Linked DNA regions of Homo sapiens: region 1 is linked to region 2. Evidence: promoter capture Hi-C in human tissues and cell types (Jung and others, 2019). All regions are on one chromosome and are shown on one strand. Each heading gives the region's core, a stretch centred on a gene start or on the middle of the fragment in contact. The rest is flanking DNA. Distances are from core to core; before and after follow the strand shown.

Region 1 (6,568 bases), core at 3,119-5,618, 830 kb before region 2:
TGGGTGCCCTACCTCAGACTATCCTGGTTGTCAATGGCGGATGGGTTCACTCAGCTCCTAGGCTGTTGTCAATTTCACTGCTTAACCTTCTCTGTATTTCAAAAATTCTACCATTATCTGGCAAATTCCTCCTCCTTCCTATCAAATCACAAAGGGGGATTTATTCTTCCTAGAACATACAAAAATACAAAAAAGTATTTTTTAAAGCAAAATTTAAAAAATCACCTATAACCTGACAACCAAAGAGCAAACACTGTTAACACAGGAATCATATTTTCTTTGTGTTTCTCTTAAGTATTTAAAAATATAGTTGCATCACATAATTTTTGTATCTGGCTTTTTCACTTAAGTGTAAATTCATAAGCAATTTACTAAGTAAGTGTCATTTTAATTTTAATGGAATTTAAAATTTCTTTCCTTCAACAAATATCAGAGGGTCATAACAGTACTTCTTTTTTTTTTTTGAGATGGAGTCTTGCTCTGTCGCCCAGGCTGGAGTGCAGTGGTGCGACCTCAGCTCACTGCAACCTCCACCTCCCGGGTTCAAGAGATTCTCCTGTCTCAACCTCTCGAGTAGCTGAGACTACAGGCACCCGCCACCATGCCCGCCTTATTTTTGTATTTTTAGTAGAGACGAGGTTTCACCATGCTGGCCAGGCTGGTCTCAAACTTCTGACCTCGTGATCTGCCTGCCTCGGCCTCCCAAAGTGCTGGGATTACAGGCGTGAGCCACCACGCTCAGCCAATAGTACTTCTTTAATAAGCCCCGTTAGTCTTACAATGTAACTCCCATGATGCTTAGTAGGTAATTTAAAATTCTTCACTCTTACACATAGTATTATTAAATATTTGCAACTAATACCCCAATTTTGCATTATTTCTTTAGAGTAGATCCCTAGATATGGAATTATTGACCCAAATACTATGAAAAAGTTGTTTTTTTGTACACACATTGCCTTAAAAGTAAAGTTTATCCCTATTTATAATCCACCAGCAGTGCATGAATGTGCTATATCATATCTTCTCCCTTATCATCATTCCTTTTCATTTAATTAATTAATTAATTATTATTGTTTTCCCTTCTTTTCACAGGTGTTTATATGATTATTGTTATTATTTTGAGGCAGTGTCTCACTCTGGCACACAGGCTGGAATGCAGTGGCACTATCATGGCTCACTGCAGCCTTGAACTCCTGGGCTCAGGTGATCCTCCCACCTCAGCCTCCTGAGTAGCTGGAACTATAAGTATGTACCACCATGCCCTGCCCCTTTTCATTTTATTTTTTATTTTTTGAGACAGAGTCTTGCTCTGTTGCCCAGGCTGGAGTGCTGTGGTGCAATCTCGGCTCACTGCAAACTCCACCTTCCAGGTTCAAGCGATTCTCCTGCCTTAGCCTCCCAAGTAGCTGGGGTTACAGGTGCCCACCACCATGCCTGGCTAATTTTTTTTTTTTTTTTTTGTATTTTTAGTAGAGATGGCGTTTCAATATGTTTACCAGGCTGGTCTCGATCTCCTGATCTCAAGTAATCCACCTCCCTCTGCCTCCCAAAGAGCTGGGATTACAGGCACCTGCCACCACGTCTGGCCGACTTTTCATTTTATTATATTTAATGTAATAGATGGAATTGGTCTTCTTATTATTGTTTGAATGTTCATACTTTGATTAATAGAAAAGTTGGAGATAGTTTTAGATGCTTATGGGTCATTTGAATTTTTCTTTTTTAGTATTATATATAGTTTTTGTGTAGATCCTTAGTCTAGAACACTCTAAGAGACCTCAAAACACATTTCTACCATTTCATTTAATTACAGTGATTCAGTGAAATTTTTATGCTGAGCTTTGAGAAAACAGCAGCCTTCATTTGGAAGTGTTAGTCATACAGCAGGTTCTCACATCAAGTTTCCATGTTGATTACTGGGCTGTGGTCAATCTCAGCTACTCAGTTCATTTGTCAGTTGGTCCTGTAGGAAAAGTTGGAAGCCGGCAGTGTGGTCATACCCACCTACAAAATCCATAATGATGACTAGCATTTACATATATAGTACCAGACACTGTTCTATATGCGTTACACATATTAACCCATTTATCTCGGAGGTTGCAAATTTTTTTGTGTGAAAAATCAGACCTTGGCAATGACCTTGAGCAGTGGGATATAAATAACCCCCACAAGCTCACCGTTCCAATAATGGAACACTAAGCATAAATGGGTTAACTAATTTAATCCTCACAACTCTAAAGTTAGGATCTATTATCTTCATTTTGTACCTGAGGCCCAGAAAAGTTAAGTAGCTTACACGAGGTCACACAGCTAGCCAGTGGCAGAGCCAGAATTTACACCCAGACTGTGAAATCTGGGTCCAGAGGTTGTGACCACTCAGTGATCTTGTTAGCATGAAAAGTTTGAAACAATGAATTTCAACAAGAACCAGAAAAAAAAAAAGAATTAATGAGCAAAATAAAGGGAAAGGATACTCAAACCTAATTGATAAGTTTTGCATAGAAAAAATAATAATAAAAGATGTGTGATCCCTATAAGTACCTGACAAAAATTTAAACCCTGGAACAAACTGAAAAACCATAAGTATCACAATCAAAAAGGATGTAGGGAGTAAGATCTACTTTGAAGGTGATGACGGAAGTGAAGACTCAAACAGAAACAGCTCAGAATTTTCTAACTTATTTTATAAATCTAACCAGCAATGACTTTAAGATGTGCTTGGGTGCCACAAGGAGGAGAATTGAAATAGTGTCATCTAGGAGTGAGTAAAAGAGAGAAAACATCAGAATAGCAAGTCCCAAACATAGATGGATTTCATAAACCATTGACAACACCACGGGAGCTGATAGATGGATAAGAAATAGAGCATCGCATTCTAGCCTGCAGACAACAGCATACCAAACATACAGAATGTAAAGGCACGATGGAAATCAGACGTGATTAAAGTTTTTTTATTTTTATATTTTAGAGACATGGGAGCTCACTCTGTCGCCGAGGCTGGAATGCAGCAGCACAATTATAGTTCACTGCAGCCTCAAACTCCTGTGTTCAAGTGGTTCTCCCACCTCAGCCTCCAGGAAGTAACTGGAACTACAGAGGCACGCCCCCATAACCAGCTAATTTTTTAATTTTTTTGTAGAGACAAAGTCTTATTATGTTGCCCAGGGGTGTCTCGAATGCCTGGACTCAAGGGATCTTCCCACTTCAGCCTCCCCAAGTGCCGAGATCACAGACATGAGCCACCATATCCAGCCTATGATAAAATTTTGAAAGAAGATTCTCCTCAGGTGAAAAAAGATGACTGGGCGAGTCTATAACGAGCCTCTCTGGAGCTGTCCTACATGCAAGGCAGCTGCTTATATTTGTAAACTATAAAAACCTATTTCAGACAACCAAAAAGAAAACAAAGCTTTCATTTAAAGAAAAGAGTGAAAGGGATTTAAACCCCAGTTAAACCACTAGGGAAGGAAAGGCAAATATAATACTGAAAAAGTCCATTTCTCCCTCAAAAAGGAGTTTAAACTTTATTTCGGCTACAATAAGAAAAAACACCTAATGAAAGGTTTTTAAAAAAAGTTTTGCCAGGCGCGGTGGCTCACGCCTGTTATCCCAGCACTTTTGGAGGCCAAGGCGGGTGGATCACGAGGTCAGGAGATCGAGACCATCCTGGCTAACACGGAGAAACCCCGTCTCTACTAAAAATACAAAAAATTAGCCAGGCGTAGTGGCGGGCCCCTGCAGTCCCAGCTACTCGGGAAGCTGAGGCAGGAGAATGGCGTGAACCCGGGAGGCGGAGCTTGCAGTGAGCCGAGATCGCGCCACTGTACTCCAGCCTGGGCGACAGAGCGAGACTCTGTCTCAAAAAAAAAAAAAAAAAAGTCTTAAAGTTGCCTCAAAAAATGTACTGATCAGGCACGGTGGCTCACACCTGTAATTCCTGCACTTTAGGAGACAGAAGTGGGAGAATCTCTTGAGACTAAGAGTTTGATGTTGTTTGTTTGTTTGTTTGTTTGTTTGTTTTTTAGAAACAGACTCTCCCTCTGTCATCCTGGCTGGAGTGCAGTGGTGTGATCATAGCTCACTGTAACTTTGAACTCCTGGGCTTGAATGATCCTGTTGCCTCAGCCTCCCAAGTAGTTGGTTCTACAGGTGCATGCCACCACACCTGGCTGAGGCCAGGAGTTTGAGACCAGCCTGGGCAACATAGTGAGACCCCATCTCTACAAAAATGTTTTTAAACATTTATTTCAATGTATTAATATGAAGTGATATAGTTAGTCCTTTTAAAAAGAAAATTGCTTAAATAGACCATAAAAATAAAAAGTATGTTTTTGTTTATCAATATCTTATGCATGACACTCACCTTAAAGATTTGTCTCTAGGTATTTTATTTTGATTACTATATAATATTAGTAACCAAACACAGTGCAACCTTCAATATTGTGACAACATGTAGCAAATTTCTCAGTCTCTGCACTGTTGACATTCAAGACCAGATAATTCTTGGCTGTGGGGGCTGTCGTGTGTCTGATAGGATGTTTAGGAGCGTCCCTGGCTTGTACCCACAAGATGCCAGTTGCATTCTCCCCTAGTGATGATACCAGAAATGTCTGCAAACATTGTCAAATGACCCCCTAGGGTGGGAGGGGTGGGAGGTGGGCGCTGGGAATCACTCCCTTGTTGGGAACCAGGGTACTAAATTCCACTTTGGTAGGAAGCAGACTAAACTACTTAGAAAATTTATAAATGCGCAAAGCTAAAATATTCAAATAGGATTTAAAAAGGAATGTTTCCATGGTAGCTCATCCCATCCCATGTCCCAGAGAAGTCTTGATTTAACCGTTTATTTTTAATTTTCACTTAATTTTTATCAAAATTAAACTGCACATGTAAAAAAAATCAAATAATGGTAAAAGACTTATACCGAGAAAAACAGTCACCGTTTTCCTCAGAGGCAACCACTTCCAAACTTTTAGCTGTTTCTTTTGGTATTTTCTTCCGTATTTCTGCATAGTTATCATGCTGTCTCTTGATTCATCAAAGTGAGGCATCATCTATTGACTTATTATGGCAGTTAATAATTTAATGTTCTTATGCCCTGCCTCCATCCTCCCAATACATTTACCTTCTTTGCTGTTAAATCAATAGTCAATGGCTAATTTTGATTATGAGGATATTGTACTATGTAGTAGTACAATTGTAATATAGTATGATTATGCTTTCTTTCTTGTATAACTGTTTTATTTTCCAGAACAAACCCCCAAACCCTTGTTTGTTTGTTTGTTTGTTTGTATGTTTGTTTGAATAGACTTTATTTTTAGGGACATTTTAAGTTCACAGAGAAATTAAGAGGAAGGTATAGGCCGGGCACAGTGGCTCTCGCCTGTAATCCTAACACTTTGGGAGGCCAAGGTGGATGGATCTCCTAAGGTCAAGGGTTTGAGACCAGCCTGGTCAACATGGTGAAACCCTGTCTCTACTAAAAATACAAAAATTAGCCAGACATGGTGGTGCATGCCTGTAACCCCAGTTACTCAGGAAGCTGAGGCAGAAGAATCACTTGAACCCAGGAGGTGAAGGTTGCAGTGAGCCAAGATCGCGCTCCAGCCTGGGCGACAGAGTAAGAGTCCGTCCCAAAAAAAAAAAAAAGAAGAAGAAGAAGAAGAACAAGGTATAGGGATTTCCCATATACCCCCTGCTCCCATACATGCACAGCCTCACCCATTATTAACATCGCCCTCCAGAGTGGTACATTTGTTACAGTTGTCTGTAGTTAACATTAAGGTTCACTCCTGGTGTTGTACATTCTATGGGTTTGAACAAATGTATAATGACCTGTATCCACCATTATAGAATCATACAGAGTAGTTTCAGTGCCCTAAAAATCTTCTTTGCTCTGCCTATTCATCCTTCCTTCCCCTCATCCCTTGGTTTTTTAATTTCTAGTTGGTTTATTTTATTTACTTTCTTATGTCCTTTTATTTAAAGCCTAAATCTTCCCAACCTACAATGGTCTTGCCACTTGGTGAAATTTATCAGACAACAATATCTGTTCTGTTTCCCTCCTCTGTCCTGCTCCCTGCCCCCACCCCAATCCCCCAATCATCTGAGCTCTTTGTTTTCTAGAGTTGCTAATTAGCTGAAGTCCTGGGACCTGCCTTCTTCATTATACCAATGATTCCCTCCTCTCTCTTGATCCTCTGAGTCACAGATCCTATTTTTTCCTCTTTCTTTATTTACTTTTTCAATTTAATAGAGCACTTAGTAGCTTCCTTAAAAGGTATATCAGAAGTAATATGTTTGAGATTTCTGTGTCTGAAAAATGTCTTTATTCAACTCTAATGCTTAACTGAGAGTTTGTTTGGGCATAGAATCCTAGTTTGAAAACCACATTCATTCGGGCCAGTGGTTCACATCTGTAATCCCAGCACTTTGGGAATCTGAGGTGGGCAGATCACTTCAGGCCAGGAGTTCGAGATCAGCCTGGGTGACATGGTGAAACCCCATCTCTACAAAAAAATGCAAAAATTAGCGGAGCCTGGTGGAGCATGCCTGTAATCCCAGCTAC
Region 2 (7,009 bases), core at 811-3,310:
TAACTTGTAACTAGTGAAAATTAGAATAAACATACAAAAATAAGGAAAATACCTTAAACTTTATGCTCCATTTATACAATGGGAACCTAAAAGACCATTGAAAGTTATGCTTTCAAGTTTTTCTTTTGTTTTAAGCAATACTATTCCAGCACTGGAGTAAATTATTATATTATTTTAGAGATAGTGGCTCTCTATGTTGCCCAGGCTGGTCTCCAACTCCTGGCCTCAAGCAATCCCCCTGCCTTGGCCTCCTAACGTGCTGGGATTATAGGCATGAGCCACCATGCCTGGCTCAAGTTTTTAATAAAATGAGAATATAGTCATAAACTATGTTAAAATGAAAAAGTAGAACATAGAAGTATATATATATATATATATATATATATATATATATATATATATATATATCAGGTACTATATATACAAATATGTATGTATATGGTATATAATAAAAACAAGAAAGCATATATAATCCAAAATTGATTCTCAAAATTGGTGTACCTAACATACACTTAGGGAATTGATTATAATCACAAATGTCCTGGTTCAGCCTAGGCCTACAGATCAGAACTTCAAGTCCCCTAGGAGGCAGGAATGTGAACAGTTACAGTTGTGCTCTCCTCATCCTGTGATATATAATTGTTTCATCTTGTATTTGTCTGTCTCCCAAGCTGCAATGTAAGCTCCAACTAAGACATGTAAGTATAGGGGAGCCGAGGGGGAAGGACAGGAAACCACGAAACTTTGCCTCCAAGTCAGGGTAGCAGGACATAGACGGAAAGGAAGACAGAAAGACAATCAGTGCTTGCACAACTCAAGACTGGGCAAGGGGTATTTCAAAAATACATGTGTGTATATATATATATATATATATATATATATATATATATATGTATACATATTTTTTTTTTTTGAGATTGTGTCTTGCTCTGTCGCACAGGCTGTAGTACAGTGGCATGATTTCGGCTCACTGCAACATCTGCCTCCTGGGTTCAAGCAATTCTCCTGCCTAAGCCTCCCGAGTAGCTGGGATCACAGGCGCCTGCTACCATCCCTGGCTAATTTTGGTATTTTTAGTAGAGACGGGGTTTTGCCATATTGGCCAGGCTGGTCTCGAACTCCTGACTTCAAGTGATCCGCCCACCTCGGCCTCCCAAAGTGCTAGGATTACAGGCGTGAGCCTCAAAGATATTTTTCAAAGGAAATGCTGAGTGTTTTGCCATGTTAGCTACCCCTTCCTATCGCCAGTGGGAAATCAATTTACAATATTAATTTCTCCCTATGCACAGACATAAGAGGACTGCTGAAGGTGAGTTGGGAGAAATGTCGAATCTGCTCTAAGGAGGATGGGGAAGGTGTGTGATGAAGGTTGCCGAGGGGTCACCATCAGGTCAATGTGTACTCACCCTGAAAAGCATAGCTTTCGTGGTAAATCTCATAGGCTTTTCTGTGGGCATCACTGAGGGTCTGGAGTTGTGACGCTCTTGATTCCTGGTGGGGAAGCTCCTTGATCACTTCCTCCAAGTCACTGAAGGTGAACCAGATCCCAACTAGGTCCCCGAAGGAGTGGAAGGCGAATGTGGCATAGTCGGCGAAGAGGTCAGCAAAGGCTTCGGTTCTCCGGAGGGTGCTGGCAGGGAGGGTCTGGTGGTGCAGGATGACCATGGGCTGAAGCCGTGCAGTCTTGAGGGCCTTGAGGAGTCGCCGGTAGCACTGCACTGTTTTCTCGTCTGGATTCTGGGTGCTTCCTGCTGGGAGGAGCTGTGCCCATGACAGAAATACCTTATAATGGGTGATCTGACTGGCATGGAGACTGCTGAAGTATTCTGGCAGGAAAGTGGGCAGTGGCTGGTGACAAACATACATGTCTTTGTCCCCTGCTACAAAGTTAGAACTCTGGTCTCCCAGGAGACCACTCAGGTTGTGCAGCAAGTCATTGGTTAGAGGACCAGCGGTGGAAATGAAATTTCTATCAGACTCCCAGTCTGACCCCCAGCATGAAAAACTTAGCAGGGCAATAAAGACTACATGCCAAGACAGCTCCATTTTCTAGGAACTGTTAGGAGGTATGTGGAACCCTTACTTTATAACTGCAACTGAGGTTGTAAAATACTAAGTGATAATTAAGACTTAATATTTAACTGGGTTATCTATGATCACAAAATCAGTACACGGTTCACTAATGCAATATTTAAAAATGTAAAGATCAGGGCCGGGCGTGGTGGCTCACACCTGTAATTCCAGCACTTTGGGAGGCCGAGGTGGGCGGATCACGAGGTCAGGAGATCGAGACCGTCCTAGCTAACATGGTGAAACCCCATCTCTACTAAAAATACAAAAAATTAGCCAGGCATCGTGGCATGCGCCTGTAGTCCCGGCTACTCAGGAGGCTGAGGCAGGAGAATCACTTGAACCCAGGAGGCGGAGGTTGCAGGAGCCAAGATCATGCCACTGCACTCCAGCCTGGGCAACAGAATGAGACTCCATCTTAAAAAAAAAAAAAAAAAAAAAAGGTAAAGACCAACACAAAAACCTCAGACTTCCTATACAAGTTAAGCAGAGGAACCCGGAAAATGTCTGAAGAAAACGATTACCAATTTTTTTTGTTTTTTTTGTTTTTTGGTGACCGGGTCTCACTCTGTTGCCCAGGTGGGAGTGCAGTGGTGCGATCACAGCTTCCTGCAGCCTTGACTTCCTGGGCTCAAGTGATCCTCCCATCTCAGCATCCTGGGTAGGTGGGACCATAGGTGTGCGCCACCACGACTGGCTAATTTTTTGTATTTTTAGTAGAGATGGAGTTTTGCCATGTCACCCAGGCTGGTCTTGAACTCCTGGGCTCAAGCAATCCTCTTGCCTCAGCCTCCTAAAGTGTTGGGATTACAGGTGTGAGCCAGCGCACCCAGCCACACATTATTTTAAAATTTGTTTACATAATACAAAAATAAGTATTTTGCCCCAAATTTTCTCTTTAAAAATATGCTGAACATATTTTGTAAGAGATTCAAACAATATGGAAACATCTATGAAAAACTTGCAAATTCCTTCACCCTCCCCCCTCCTCTTCCTATAATAAGTATCTTCAGCAATATGTATCTTTCCAGTTTTCTTTCTCTGCATATCTTAATGGTTATACAGGAGTCAGAATGCCTGGGTTTAAATCTCACCTGACAAAAATTACTTAACTTTGTGCCTCTATTTTGTCACCTGTAGAATGTGGATAATTCATCATAGGCTGTGGGGATTAAATGGGTCTTTCTTGTAGCATGTATACAACAGTACAGCTCAGGGATCATTATTATTACGTAAATACAAATGGAAACGTGTATAACATTTAAAATATAGAACAATTTAACATATATGGAATTATGCCATATGTATTTTCAGCCTTTTCTTCACTTAATAGCTCTTAGAGTTCTGCCTGTATCAGAACATATAGACCCACCTCTAACAGATGCATAGCTTTCCACAGCAAGAATGTACCATAAATTAACATCTTGCATATTAAACACCGGTTGGTTTTACATTTTTGTGTTGCAAACAATGCTGCAAATGAATATCCTTATATACAGGCTGGGCATGGTCAATCACGCCTGTTTTGCCAGTACTTTTGGAGGCTCAGACTGTAGGACTGCTCAAGCCCAGGAGCTTGAGGCCAGTCTGGGCAACACAGGGAGATCATCTCAAAAAAAAAAATGGTTTTTGATTGATTGAAATGCAAATTGTCTTCCAAGTTAAATCCTACATAGAGTTAGATGTGTGCCTGTATCCGTCTGCCTTGCTAATGCCTATTATAAAACTTTTACATTTTTGATACTTTGACGTAAATATTATGTGCTTTTCTTTTTCTGATTATTTAAGAGGTGAAGCTCTTCTTGTTAATTGGGCATTTTTCTTCTGAGTTTTATCTTATTACTGATATAAAAATTCTTAATGGGAGTTTGGATATCACATATTAAAACGTGATAGAAAAATTTTCCCATCTTTTAATTTGGTTTATAGTGTCTGTTTTTTTTTAATAGACTCCCATGACTTTCCATAGACTGTAGAGGGTGAAGCCTGGGAATCTTTTTTTGTTGTTGTTGTTGCCGCCCAAGCTGGAGGGCAGTGGCATGATCTCAGCTCACTGCAACTTCCACCTCTTGGGTTCAAGCAATTCTCCTGCCTCAACCTCCTGAGTAGCTGGGATTACAGGTGCCCACCACCATGCCTGGCTAATTTTTGTACTTTTAGTAGAGACAGGTTTTCTCCACGTTGGCCAGGCTTGTCTCGAACTCCTGACCTCAGGTGATCTACTCACCTTGGCCTCCCAAAGTGCTGGGATTACAGGCGTGAGCCACCGTGCCTAGCCTTTTTTTTTCTTAAGTGAAAGCAAGGCTATTAGGAAAGTAAAGGAATAAAAAATGGTTACTACGTCAGCAGAGCAGCCTAGTCTTTAAAGATACATTACCTGATACCAGTCTTCTTATAAAAATCCCATGACAAATCTACTTGAGTATTCACTCTTGTTTTTAATGTTTGCCATTTATTTTTAAAATACTTAATTGTACATACTTGTGGAGTACATTTTGACAAGGTTTCATACAAGTTGATTCCAGGGAAAGAGATAATTATTGGGAGAAACATATTTAAATCATTGTTTTAACCTATATTAATCTGTCTTGCTTTCTACTAATAGATTTCTGGCTGCTCAAATTCACATTGCACTGGAAAGCTCAGACATCAAGGCAAGTTGAGTACTCATGGGTATTAGACTGTCCCACGTGGGCCTTAGCCTCAGACAGTTATTTTGCTTTTGTGACCTTTAACATACTTTGTGATTTAATGAATGCCATCTGTTGTTAAAAGCTGCAACACAGGAACTGCTCCACCTCATGAACATACTGATCATAGCTAAGTCTCAGGAACTGTTAGTATCATAAACGGTAATAACTTTTCCTGGAAGACCATAAAATTTGGGGATTGCTTGTAATATAGCAAATGACCTATTTCCCCTAAAAAAGCAATTTGAAAACAATCCTGAGAAATTACCCTTAGGACACAGAAGTAAAATAAATTACTAAAGAGTAATTTTAAAAAAGTATAATAAACTTTTATAAACTTAAAAAAAAAAAAAAACAACTGGAATTAACCTTGGAAAGTCATCTCTAAGGCCTCTAGCTTTCATATGAGTTCTCTAATGACTCCTTCTCATAGAAACCTCATCCATAATACCACAGTTCTACCTCTTCACTCCAGGTTAAGCAAAAAGGGAAAGTCTCACATTCAGAAGTAGATGGAAGTAATAATCAGGGTACAGTAGAAAGAAATCCAATAGACAACTTCAGAACAAGTTATTTTATTTTGATGAATAAAAGCAGTAGCTGGCAATTGAAAAAAAGTTATTTGCTCAATAGGACAGCACATACCTTAAAAGTAATGGGCCTTTTCTTACACATGAAAACAAAGGTATTGGTTATAGAGACTACACATTATTTGGTTCCAACTTCACTGGGACAGGAAACACACCAAAGGAAGTGCTGAAGCCTGTGTTGGTATGAAACCTGTGATGAATGTGACACATAGGACCATCAACTCAATTCTTGTTTCTGAAAACAAATCCTGGAAGCATCACTTCCAGAAACACTTCTGTCCCTAGCAGAGCTCCAGCCAGGCTCCAGGCCACGAGGTGCTGTGCCACAGTTCCTCAGCTCTGGTCAGTTACTTTCACTATCTCAATCTTCGAGCAAGTAGTTAGGGTTAACTACCAAGTAGGGATCTTCTTCATAGCTCTCACTTCCCTCTGTGGAGCCTTTCAATCCAGCCTGGGTGAGCTCAATTAGAACATGATCCTGTGAAACACAAATATTTGTCCTCAGGTTTCAAGCAGTATTATACCAATGTCCAGATATACAAGACTTGACCCTTCTTCCGAGTGTTTGCTATCAACATTTTCTTTCATTTCCCAACTAGAAACTCCTAGGAAAAGGACCACACTTTAAAAATCACTATCAGTGCTCTGCTAAACCCTGTTCCTAGTAGGATGCTGACCTTTTCATACCATAAACCCCTTGTGGAAAATTAAGAAATACTTAAATATATTACATCAAATGCTTGTAAATACAACTTCAAAAAAGGAAGTAATGCTTGAATTTTAAGGTTAAACAACTCTGCAAAATCTTCTAATTAATTGGAAGTCTGTTTCATACTTAATATCATTCAGCAATTTTTAATTATGACCACTGAACTTTTTCATATACCACCATTTCATAGAGTTAGGAGAAGAATCTATGAAAATTCATCTGAAAAATTTTTCACTCTGAGCTAATAAAAAAAAAGGTAGAACATGCCATCTGGCTTAAAATCTTGATGACAGATTTTAAGCCCACGATATAATTACAGGTTAGTCAAAACTGTCCACAAATGAGAAGAGCTCCTAGCCAAGCCCATAGAAAGGAACTCAGGAAACTGTGATTTGATCCTAAGAAGTCTGGCAAGGCTCCACAGTATAAACACTGAAGCCACTAAGGGGGACTGGACACTTTTTAAAAAATTGCCCTTTCAAATCTACCCCTGAAGTTAGATTGGACACTTTCAAGCACTCACTCTATGTGTTAACATACCTTCATAGGAAGCATCATATCTCATCAGCACAGTATAAGCTCTCTAGTTTTCTGTAGCAAATTAGTTCAGGTGGTAAGCCAAATTTTAAAAGGTAATCCAGGCTGAGCGCAGTAGCTCATGCCTGTAATCCCAGCACTTTGGGAGGCTGAGGTGGGTGGATCACCTGAGGTCAGGAGTTTGAGACCAGCCTGGCCAACATGGTGAAACACCATCTCTACTAAAAATACAAAAATTAGCTGGGAGTGGTGGCGGGCACCTGTAATCCCAGCTACTCTGGAGGCTGAGATAAGAGAATCATTTAAACCCAGAAGGCGGAAGTTGCGGCGAGCTGAGATCATGCTACTGCACTCCAGTCTGGGCAACAGAGCAAGACTCTCTCAAAAGATAAATAAATAAATAAATAAATAAA

Evidence for each region. The method cuts DNA at HindIII sites, captures the fragments that hold promoters and counts their contacts. A contact is called where the count stands out against the background at its distance.
Region 1: a fragment that was not itself captured here is called in contact with the fragment with the promoter of LCT in region 2 in 2 of the 25 tissues and cell types used here (lymphoblastoid cells and mesendoderm cells).

The regions. Positions count from the first base shown.
Region 1 is chr2:135,007,677-135,014,244 of GRCh38, forward strand. All of the region lies in intron 5 of MAP3K19 (mitogen-activated protein kinase kinase kinase 19), which reads right to left. Among named protein-coding and RNA genes, the nearest start is that of MAP3K19, 36 kb to the right of the region's middle. The HindIII fragment of the contact is 8,965 bases long and covers 1-6,568 here.
Region 2 is chr2:135,835,124-135,842,132 of GRCh38, forward strand. It overlaps LCT (lactase), which reads right to left and starts at 2,061. Exons shown (of 17, transcript NM_002299.4): 1 at 1,407-2,061. The coding sequence starts at 2,046. MCM6 (minichromosome maintenance complex component 6) reads right to left here. Exons shown (of 17, transcript NM_005915.6): 17 at 4,503-5,828. The coding sequence ends at 5,712. The HindIII fragment of the contact is 17,432 bases long and covers 1-7,009 here.